Linked DNA regions of Homo sapiens: regions 1 and 3 are each linked to region 2. Evidence: promoter capture Hi-C in 16 types of primary human blood cells and fetal thymus (Javierre and others, 2016). All regions are on one chromosome and are shown on one strand. The core of a region is centred on a gene start or on the middle of the fragment in contact, and the rest is flanking DNA. Distances in the headings are between cores, read along the strand shown.

Evidence for each region. Contacts are between HindIII fragments. The CHiCAGO score rates a contact against its expected background, and 5 or more counts as called.
Region 1: a contact is called between a fragment that was not itself captured here and the fragment with the promoter of GTF2B in region 2, in 1 of 17 cell types (neutrophils). The highest score is 5.6, in neutrophils.
Region 3: a fragment that was not itself captured here is called in contact with the fragment with the promoter of GTF2B in region 2 in 1 of 17 cell types (neutrophils); the score reaches 5.4 in neutrophils.

The regions. Positions count from the first base shown.
Region 1 is chr1:88,651,559-88,654,625 of GRCh38, reverse strand. The region is part of intron 1 of PKN2-AS1 (PKN2 antisense RNA 1); the gene reads left to right. Among named protein-coding and RNA genes, the nearest start is that of PKN2, 31 kb to the left of the region's middle. The HindIII fragment of the contact is 3,212 bases long and covers 193-3,067 here.
Region 2 is chr1:88,889,811-88,893,124 of GRCh38, reverse strand. It overlaps GTF2B (general transcription factor IIB), which reads left to right and starts at 1,558. Exons shown (of 7, transcript NM_001514.6): 1 at 1,558-1,642. The coding sequence starts at 1,626. RefSeq lists an enhancer at 1,273-1,382. The HindIII fragment of the contact is 16,776 bases long and covers 1-3,314 here.
Region 3 is chr1:88,732,245-88,735,101 of GRCh38, reverse strand. The region is part of intron 1 of PKN2 (protein kinase N2); the gene reads right to left. Among named protein-coding and RNA genes, the nearest start is that of PKN2-AS1, 48 kb to the right of the region's middle. The HindIII fragment of the contact is 2,215 bases long and covers 312-2,526 here.

The DNA of each region.
Region 1 (3,067 bases), core at 549-3,048, 240 kb after region 2:
ATTCCATTAGTCTACTTGTATACATATTCTAGGAAAACAGCATGCTGGGTTGAGCATGTTAGACTACATTTTTTGGAAGGGTGTCAGCCATGAAAATACCTTTTTTTCCAGGATCTAATTGCAGATTACCTTAAACATATCAGAAAGCTTAAAAACATTGACCGTGGAGCCAGAATTCCCAGTTTTAAAGCTTATCTCTACCAATTTGTTAGTTGAATAACTTTGGGCAAATTATTGACTTCCGTGAGCCAGTTTTTATACATTTGTAAAAGCGAAATAAAAGAAGCTATCTTAAAAGTTGTTCTGCAAAGTATATGAACTAATATGTATAAAGTATTAATAGCTGGAATACTGCTTGGTGTGTAGTAAGTACTGTGTAAGGGTTACTTGTTACAGAGTCATTATCTGTGGATGCTCATTATTCTGTGGAGGATGAAATATTGTATCCAAATTCAACATAGGAAGAGACTTATTCTTTGCCTTTCATCCTTTTGTGGTATCTTTATATACACTTTTTTCTTTCTTTTTCTTTTTTTTTTTTCCAAGATGGAGTCTTGCTCTGTCACCCAGGCTGGAGTGCAATGGTGTGATCTCGGCTCACTACAAGCTCCGCCTCCCGGGTTCAAGTGATTCTCTTGCCTCAGTCTCCTGAGTATCTGGGATTACAGGCACCCACCATCATGCGTGGCTAATTTTTGTGTTTTTGTAGAGATGGAGTTTCACCATGTTGGCCAGGCTGGTTCTTGAACGCCTGACCTCAGGTGATCCACCCGTCTCTGCCTCTCAAAGTGTTGAGATTACAGGCATGAGCCAGTGGGCCCGGCTTATACTCTTTTCTTGACTCTGGTCTTGAATTTTCTTTGCCTCTTCCCAGCCTTTTACTTCCAATTTTTCTTCTTAGATGGTACTGTCCACTTCAGAAACTCTTTTCTCCTATTAATACACTTTTCTCTAACCTTTTCAATTCTTCATGTCAAGGACATGAAGTACGTCTGTTCTATACGTGTTTCCAATGCCTTGCATGGAGCTATAGTAGGTGTTCAATAGACACGCATAAGTGAAGTACACAGAAAAACCAGCTTGCAGCCAGTGGCTCACGCCTGTAATCCCAGCACTTTGAGAGGTCAATGTGGGCAGATCATGAGGTCAGGAGTTCAAGACCAGCCTGGACAAGATGGTGAAACCCTGTCTCTACTAAAAATACAAAAATTAGCCGGGTATGGTGGTGGGCACCTGTAATCCTAGCTACTCAGGAGGCTGAGGCAGAGAATTGCTTGAGCCTGGGAAGCAGAGGCTGCAGTGAGCCGAGATTGCGCCACTGCCTCCAGCCTGGGAGACAGAGTGAGACTTAGTCTCAAAAACAAACAAACAAACAAAAACAAACAAACAACAAAAAATTAAAACCAGCTTGCATTTGCACCTGAAGTTTGTGATTGTCTCTGAAAAGAATGCCTACAATTATAACAATTATTTTTATTTACTTAGCAATCATAAATGCCAGGCACTGTACTACGGATTTCATGTAGCATGATCTCATTTAATGGCATCAGCAATTTTTGGGGGCGGGGGTGGAATCCTGTTAGTTTCTTTTAAAAACGTTTTAATTGACAAATAAAAACTATGTATTTATTATGTACAACATCATTTTGAAATATGTATATTTTGTGAAATGACTAAATCAAGCTAATTAACATATGCATTACATCACACATTTTTTGTGCGTGTGTGGTAGGAACACTTAAAAGCTACCCTCTAAGCAATTTTCAAGAATACAATACCTTGTTATTAACTATAGTCATCATATTGTACAATAGATCTTTTGAACTTATTCCTGCTGTCTAACTGAAATTTTATATCCTTTGACCAACATCTTCCCCCCTACTCCCCACCCCCAGCCTTTGGTAACCACCATTATACTGTCTACTTCTATGAGTTCAACTTTTTTACATTCTACATATGAGATCTTATGCTATTTGTCTCTGATTGCCTGGCTTATTTCACTTAATGTCCTCCAGGTTTATTTATCCATGTTGTGGCAAATGACAGGATTTCCTTCTTTTAAAAGGGTGAATAGGATTACATTGTGTATATGTACCACAGTTTTTTGGTATATTCATCTGTTGATGGACACTTAGACTGATTCTCTTAGTTATTATAAATAATGCTTCAGTGAACATGGGAATACAGATGTTTCTTAGGCTTATTCCCTATCTTAACTATTATAAATAATACTGCAATGAACATGGAAGTGCAGCTATCCCTTCAATATACTGATTTCCTTTCCTTTGGGTACATAACCAGTAGCGGGATTGCTAGATCCCTATTAGTTTCAATTTACAAATCAGGCAGTTGAGTTTCAGAAAATATAAATTACATGCCCAAAGTGTCATTTGCTAATGACCAAAGCATCTTTCTTCTGAAAGAGCCCCCTATTTGTTATTGGAGACTGCCTTCATTTTTTTATTCCTCTTAATATGTTGGATGCAGCTATAGTTTTTTGGTCTACTATCTCTTGCCAGGCAAGCACGTTTGCTGAACTTCCCTAGAGAACTACACATTTGAGAGGTTACGAGTTCAAATACTATGGGAGCCATACAGAGAACATAAGGAGTGAGGTATACCAAGTATTTTTTGTATGAGGGGTACGGACTGTGTCTACATGGGAGCAGTTCTAACTTAACTCCAGCCGAATATAGTCAGCAGAAAAACAGACCAAATGTTGACATACATTCTGATTTTTCAAGAGCAGCCGGATATCTTGAGTTTTATGGGTAACCTCTGAATTCCAAACCTGAAATTTAAGTATTGTCTCAAAGTAAGAATCTTATATAGGCCACATAGAATAGGCCTGTAGGCCATATCTAGCCCTTGGGCACCTATACACTAAAAACAGTGGAGGCCCTGGTTCCTCTAACTCTGAAACTAAGCTCCAGGCCCAATGACAGGGACAAGCATAAGCTGCAAATAGTTGTCATCAGCCTAGGGGATGCATGTGCATATGAGGAGCAGAGGTTTCTCCATCAGCAAATAAGTTGTTGTGCAGTTTTTTTTTTCTTCTTTTTGATGC
Region 2 (3,314 bases), core at 309-2,808:
GACGAGGTCAGGAGATCAAGACCATCCTGGCTAACAGGGTGAAACCCCGTCTCTACTAAAAATACAAAAACAAAATTAGCCGGGCGTGGTGGCAGGCTCCTGTAGTCCCAGCTACTCGGGAGGCTGAGGCAGGAGAATGGCGTGAACCTGGCAGGCGGAGCTTGCAGTGAGCCCAGATCGCGCCACTGCACTCCAGCCTGGGCGACAGAGCAAGACTCCGTCTCAAAAAAAAAAAAAAAAAAGGAAAACCCCAACTTTCCACACCTAAGTAACAAAAGAACCAGACGTTACTCCCTTTGCAACCCCCTCCCCACTACACAACCACACACACACACACACACACACACACACACACTTTAGCCGTGTGGCAGATGTGAAATTGAAAGTATCTCTGATTCGTTGCTTTCTGCAACCAATCAGACGCTTGCATAGGAGTGTAACTTTGTAACTTCACTTTAGCCTCTGATTGGTTGCTTTCCACAACCAATCAGACTGATTGTGGAGCCACTACTTCATTTACATAGGGTGTACACCATGTAACCAATGGGAAACCTCTAGAGGGTATTTAAACCCCCGAAAATTCTGCAAAAGGAGTCTTGAGCTGGTATTACCTTTTCGTTTTCAATAAATCTCTGCCTTTATTCCTTCATTCTTTCCTTAGTTTGTGCGTTGTGTCCAGTTCTTTGTTCAAAACGCCAAGAACGTGAATACTCTCCACCGGTAACTGTTATTGTTGTTAGTAATAGTGGTATTACAATTTTGACGTTAGTTTGGCTAATTAATAAATCTAGGGATATTTTGCAATATCTAGATGTTCTCGCAAGTTTTCTATATGTAGCTATCAGCCAACGTTACAAAGGCCGTGAAAAAAAAATGATCAGAGCATGGCCCATATCGTCGTGCCTCTTGTGTACACATTGGTTTCACGTAGTTTTGTTTCATCTTCTGCCAATTCTAAAAGGGTATGCAAGGCAAGATACCATAACCTATATAAACTTACATGACCTGTATAAAGGACGTGCCTAAGAAGACAACATGCTAGCTGATGACAGATCCTGAACAGACACCTGTTCTGGATGACCTAAGTGAGTTTCTCCTTTTATTTCAAATTTCTTAGAAAGAATCACCCTTGGGGCACGTAAGAACTGGCTCAAATGGGAGTGCCTGACGCGGGGTGGGGGGCTGGGGGCGGGGTAGGTGGTGGCCGTGAGAAGGTAGCCGTGAGAAGGTGGGAGAGGAAGGGGTGGTTAAACTATTAGGGATGCAGGCTTTGGCACCACTACGAAGCCAGGGTTTTCTTTGTGTTTTAACTGTCAGATTGAGAGTAGCTCTGTTGTAGCCCCTTTGCAGGGTTCCCATGAGACTTTTCCTAGGTAGTTACGTTGACTCGCTTAGCAACATAGCAAATTACAGAAACGGAGTAAGAACGTAAGAAATCGCAAAGCACGTGACGTATGGGATCTCACTGTTCTTGGCCCTTCTCCCGACCCGTAGCCCTGCTCTGCTACGACTGCGTGGGTGAGTCGTCTATAAAAACTCATCTCTGCGCGTCTCTTCGCCACATTCGCTTCCTGCTTTCGGTGTGTCTGTTGTGTCTTGTTGCGGGCACCGCAGTCGCCGTGAAGATGGCGTCTACCAGCCGGTTAGTATGTCCCGCCGAGCCCGGCGAGCTGAGGGGCGGGCGCGAGCGCCGCCGGCTTTTAGGCGGCCTCCGGGCAGCCTCGTAGGGCTGAGCGCCTAGGGGTATGGGAGAGAAGCGGCGGGACTGGCCGACGGGCCGGGACAAAGGCACTTCCAGACGGCAGGACTGTCAGGGTGTCGCAGGGGTTACCGAGCTGTTGACGTTATTGCCCTGGAGTCTTATGTAGATATCACCCTATGTGGGTCCTGGTGGGCTACTGTGTCCCCAGTCCTTGCCCTCGTATCTTTTCCCAATATTTCAATCTCCCTTTATTTTCTCTTCTTCCCACCCTCCCTCCTCTCCTCCCCCGCGCCCCCCCCCCCGCTTGTTTTTTTCATCTACGGCCCAAACAACCCGAGGGTCCGTAATTTCTCCTTTTCAAAGGAACGGGAAACAGTTAGTTTCAGGTTCCTATCGATCTGACAGCTAGGAAGTTGGGAACGTCAGCATTGGTAAGCCAGATGGAACCTGGTTGGTTACCATCACAGCGGGCCTCGGAAGTGGAAGCTAGAGCCATCGGAAGAGTTGATTAGTTCCCTGCTAAAGGATTTGTTTACAAATATCGTTGCCTGTGTACTTCTGAAGAAAATCTTGCCAAAGAAAATTAGTTATATGTGCTGGGAGGTCGCTTTTTAGTATATATTTAAGAATGCAGTGTACTCATATCTACAGGAAATGCATGCAGTACCCTCAGAAACAGCCTTTAATCTTGTGACCTGAAAAATGCTTGCAGACCCTAATTATGTCTCTCATTACCACTGTGAGGTAGATATTAGTATTTTTGCATAAGTGTAAACTGAGTCATGCCAATGTTGACTTTTCCAAGAGTCGTGTTAGAGTGTAGAGTCTAAGACAACCTGTTTCCTGTTATCCACACCTGGCCTTTGGTTAACTAATCCTGTGTTGAAAGTATCAAATTAATTCTACAGCTTCTGGAACTCTGGCACTATTTTTCTGACCCTGCTATCATCTGTGGAATTGGTTAATTTCACAGTGAAAGCCATTTTTACAAAATAGCCTTTTCTGGTAACTGCCAAGACTTACATTTTATGATTAGAAAAGGAATTTGGGGTGGGAGGCAGCTTTAGCTAATATACTGTTTGAACAGAACTCATAAAGCCAGTGACACTCTTGTTTACTGATTCTGATTCTTGGATTGGATGCTCAGTCATTCTATCTGGGTGTTGTTCTGTCGGGTAAGGCCTCCTTGTAGGTAAATGGAAAACTTGGGCTCCCCAGATCACTCAAATACGACTTAAAATTCTACCATGGCTTTTTTTTTTTTTAATTCTATCATGGCTTTTTAAGTCTGAAATTTTTTTCTAGATATGTGCAATTTATGTATCATAGCAGTTATTGCTCAAGTTTTTCTATCAGTGACAACAAAGAAAGTTAAATGCAGTATTTTTTATTTTATGGAACAGGCCTGGGCTGAAGTGTAGGTGGCACGATCATGGCTCACTGCAGCCATGACCTCCCCAGTTCAAGTGATCCTCCCACCTCAGCCTTCTGAGTAGCTGGGACCATAGGTACACACCACGTGCCTGGCTAATTTTTTTATTTTTAAATTTTATTAATTTTTATTTTTGTGGAGACAAGGCCTAGTTACATTGCCCAGGCTGGTCCTGAACTC
Region 3 (2,857 bases), core at 170-2,669, 160 kb after region 2:
ACATCTTAAAGGTATAAAACTCACTAGTAAGTATACTGGAAGATGGAATACTATAATACTATAAATGTGATACATAAAGCACTTGTATCTTTAATATGAAGGCTAAAAGACAAAACTATTAAATAATAACTATTTTAATTTGCCAAGAGATGGGTAATATAAGATGTAAAATGGGACATCAAAAATTACAAATGTGGGAGAAAATGGAGTTAAAAGTAGAGTTTGCTTTTTCTTTCTTTTCCTATCTTTACAATCAAAGTTGGGTTGCTATCAGTTTCAAATATCTCATTTTAAGATTTTTTTCATAAGCTTCATGGTAACTGCAAAGCAAAAACCTATAAGAAATACACCAAAAATAACAGGGAAACCATCAAAACACATTACTAGAGAAAATCACCTAACCATAAAGAAAGACAACAAGAGAACATAAATAGCCAAAGTAATCTAAAGCAAAAAGAACAAAGCTGGAGGCATCATACTACTTGACTTCAAAACACATTACATAGCTATAGTAATCAAAATAGCATGCTACTGGTATAAAAAAGACACACAAATCAATGGAACAGAAGACAGTCCAGAAATAAATCATCTATCTACAGTTTATTAATTCTTGACAAAGGGGCCAAGTACACTCAATGGGAAAAGGGCAACAAGTGGTGTTGGGAAAACTGGATATCCACATGAGAGAATGAAATTAGATTCTTATCTCTCACCACAGACAAAACTCAACTCAAAATGGATTAAAGACTTAAATGTAAGACCCCAAACTACAAAATCACAAGAAGAAAATATGGAGGAAATATAGGGGAAAGCTCCATGTCACTGGTCTAGGCAAGAATATTTTGGACAAAACCTGAAAAGCATGGGCAACAAAAGCAAAAACAGTTTGAGCATTCTAAATCCAAAACTCTAAAACGCTCCAAATTTTTTTTTTTTTTTTTTAAAGATAGGGTCTCACTCTGTTACCCAGGCTGGAGTGCAGTGGTACAATCATTGCTCATTAGCAACCTTGAAACATTGAGCTCAAGTGATCCTCCCACCTTAGCCTCCCAAGTAGCTAAGACTACAGGTGGGCTCCACTATGCCTAGCTAATTTTTATCTTTTGTAAAGACAGGGTCTTGCTACATTGCCCAGGCTGGTCTTGAACTGATGGCATCAAGTGATCCTCCTGCCTTGACCCCCCCAAATTGTTGGGATTATAGGCGTGAGCCACTATGAAACCTTTTGATTGCCAACATGATACTCGAACTAAATGCTTATTGGAACGTTTTGAATTTTCAAAATTTGATTTGGAATGCTCAACCACTAAGTATAATGCAAATATTCCAGAACCTGAAAAAATCCCAAATCCAAAACACTCTGGTTGTAAGCATTTCAGATACAGGATATTTAACCTGTATAGACAAATGGAATTGTATCAAACTAAAAATCTTCTGCATAGTAAAGGTAACAATCAACAGAGCAAGGATGCCAGTCATAGACTGGGAGAACACATTTACAAACTACACAACTGATAAAGGGTTAATACCCAAATATAAAGAACTCAAACACTCAATAACAAACAAATAACCTGATCAAAAAATGGGCAAAAGGCCTACATAGACATTTCTCCAAAAAAAGAACATACAAACAACCCACAGGTGTATGAAAAAATGTTCAACATCACTAATCATCAAAAAATGCAAGTCAAAACTATAATGAGATATCACATCACTCTAGTTAGAATAGGTACTCTCAAAAAATCAAAAGATAGCAGGTGTTGATGAGGGTATGGATAAAAGGGAACCCTTATACACTGCTGGTGGGAATGTATAGCCATTATGGAAAACAGCATGAAGGCTACTCAAAAAATTTTAAACAGAACTACCACATGATCCGATAAATCCCACTACTGGGTATATATATCCAAAGAAAATGAAATCAGTATGTTTTACAGATATCTGCACTCCTATGTTTATTACAGCATTATTCACAATAGCCAAGATATGGAATCAACCTAAATGTCTATCAAAGAGAATAACTATTTTTATGTTTCTTGTTACATATTCCCAACTTTTTTGTACCCATTAACCCATCCTTCCCTACCCGTTTTTCCCTGCTCCCCTCTCGTCCTCTCATAACTACCATTCTACTCTCTACCTCTATGAGAACAACCTTTTAGATTCCACCTATGAATGAGATCATGTGGTATTTGTCTTTCTGTGCCTGGCTTAGTGTCCTCTAGGTACATTCACGTTGTCTGAAATGACAAGATTTCATTATTTATGACTGAATAATATTCCATTGTGTATATATACTATATTTTATTTATCCACTTACAAGACTTCATTTAAAAAGTTGGGAATATAAAACAAGAAATTTAAAAATAGTGTTTCTCTTTGACATAGAATTATAAAACTCAAGAAATCTAACCTAAGATAATAATTAGAAATTTTTGTTATATAGAATGGTCAATTCAATAATTTTAAAATTAATAATATGTTCAATGCACTGTATTGGGCACAGACAGACTCCCTTATAAAGCTTACAAATATCAGGGCTTTAAACCAACTTTAGAAAAGAGAAAGTTCAAGATGCTACCTAAGTGTCATAACAAAAGAATTTCAAGTCAGCTAGCGAATAAAGAAAGGTTTCCCTTATTTGTGCCCTTGATTAGTTAACAGCAGTATATGCAGCTGATATACTGCTGTGTAAACACACTTTTATTTCAAGTTATGTTAAAAATAAGAACTTTAAAAATAGAGGGAAAGATAAATTAAGAGGGATTTCCATTTTATTTTTCAAAGTTTTCCATGTTTTCTCTATTTTTTTGACAATAAAATTTTCTCCACTTCTTTTTTTAACCTTGCCTAATAA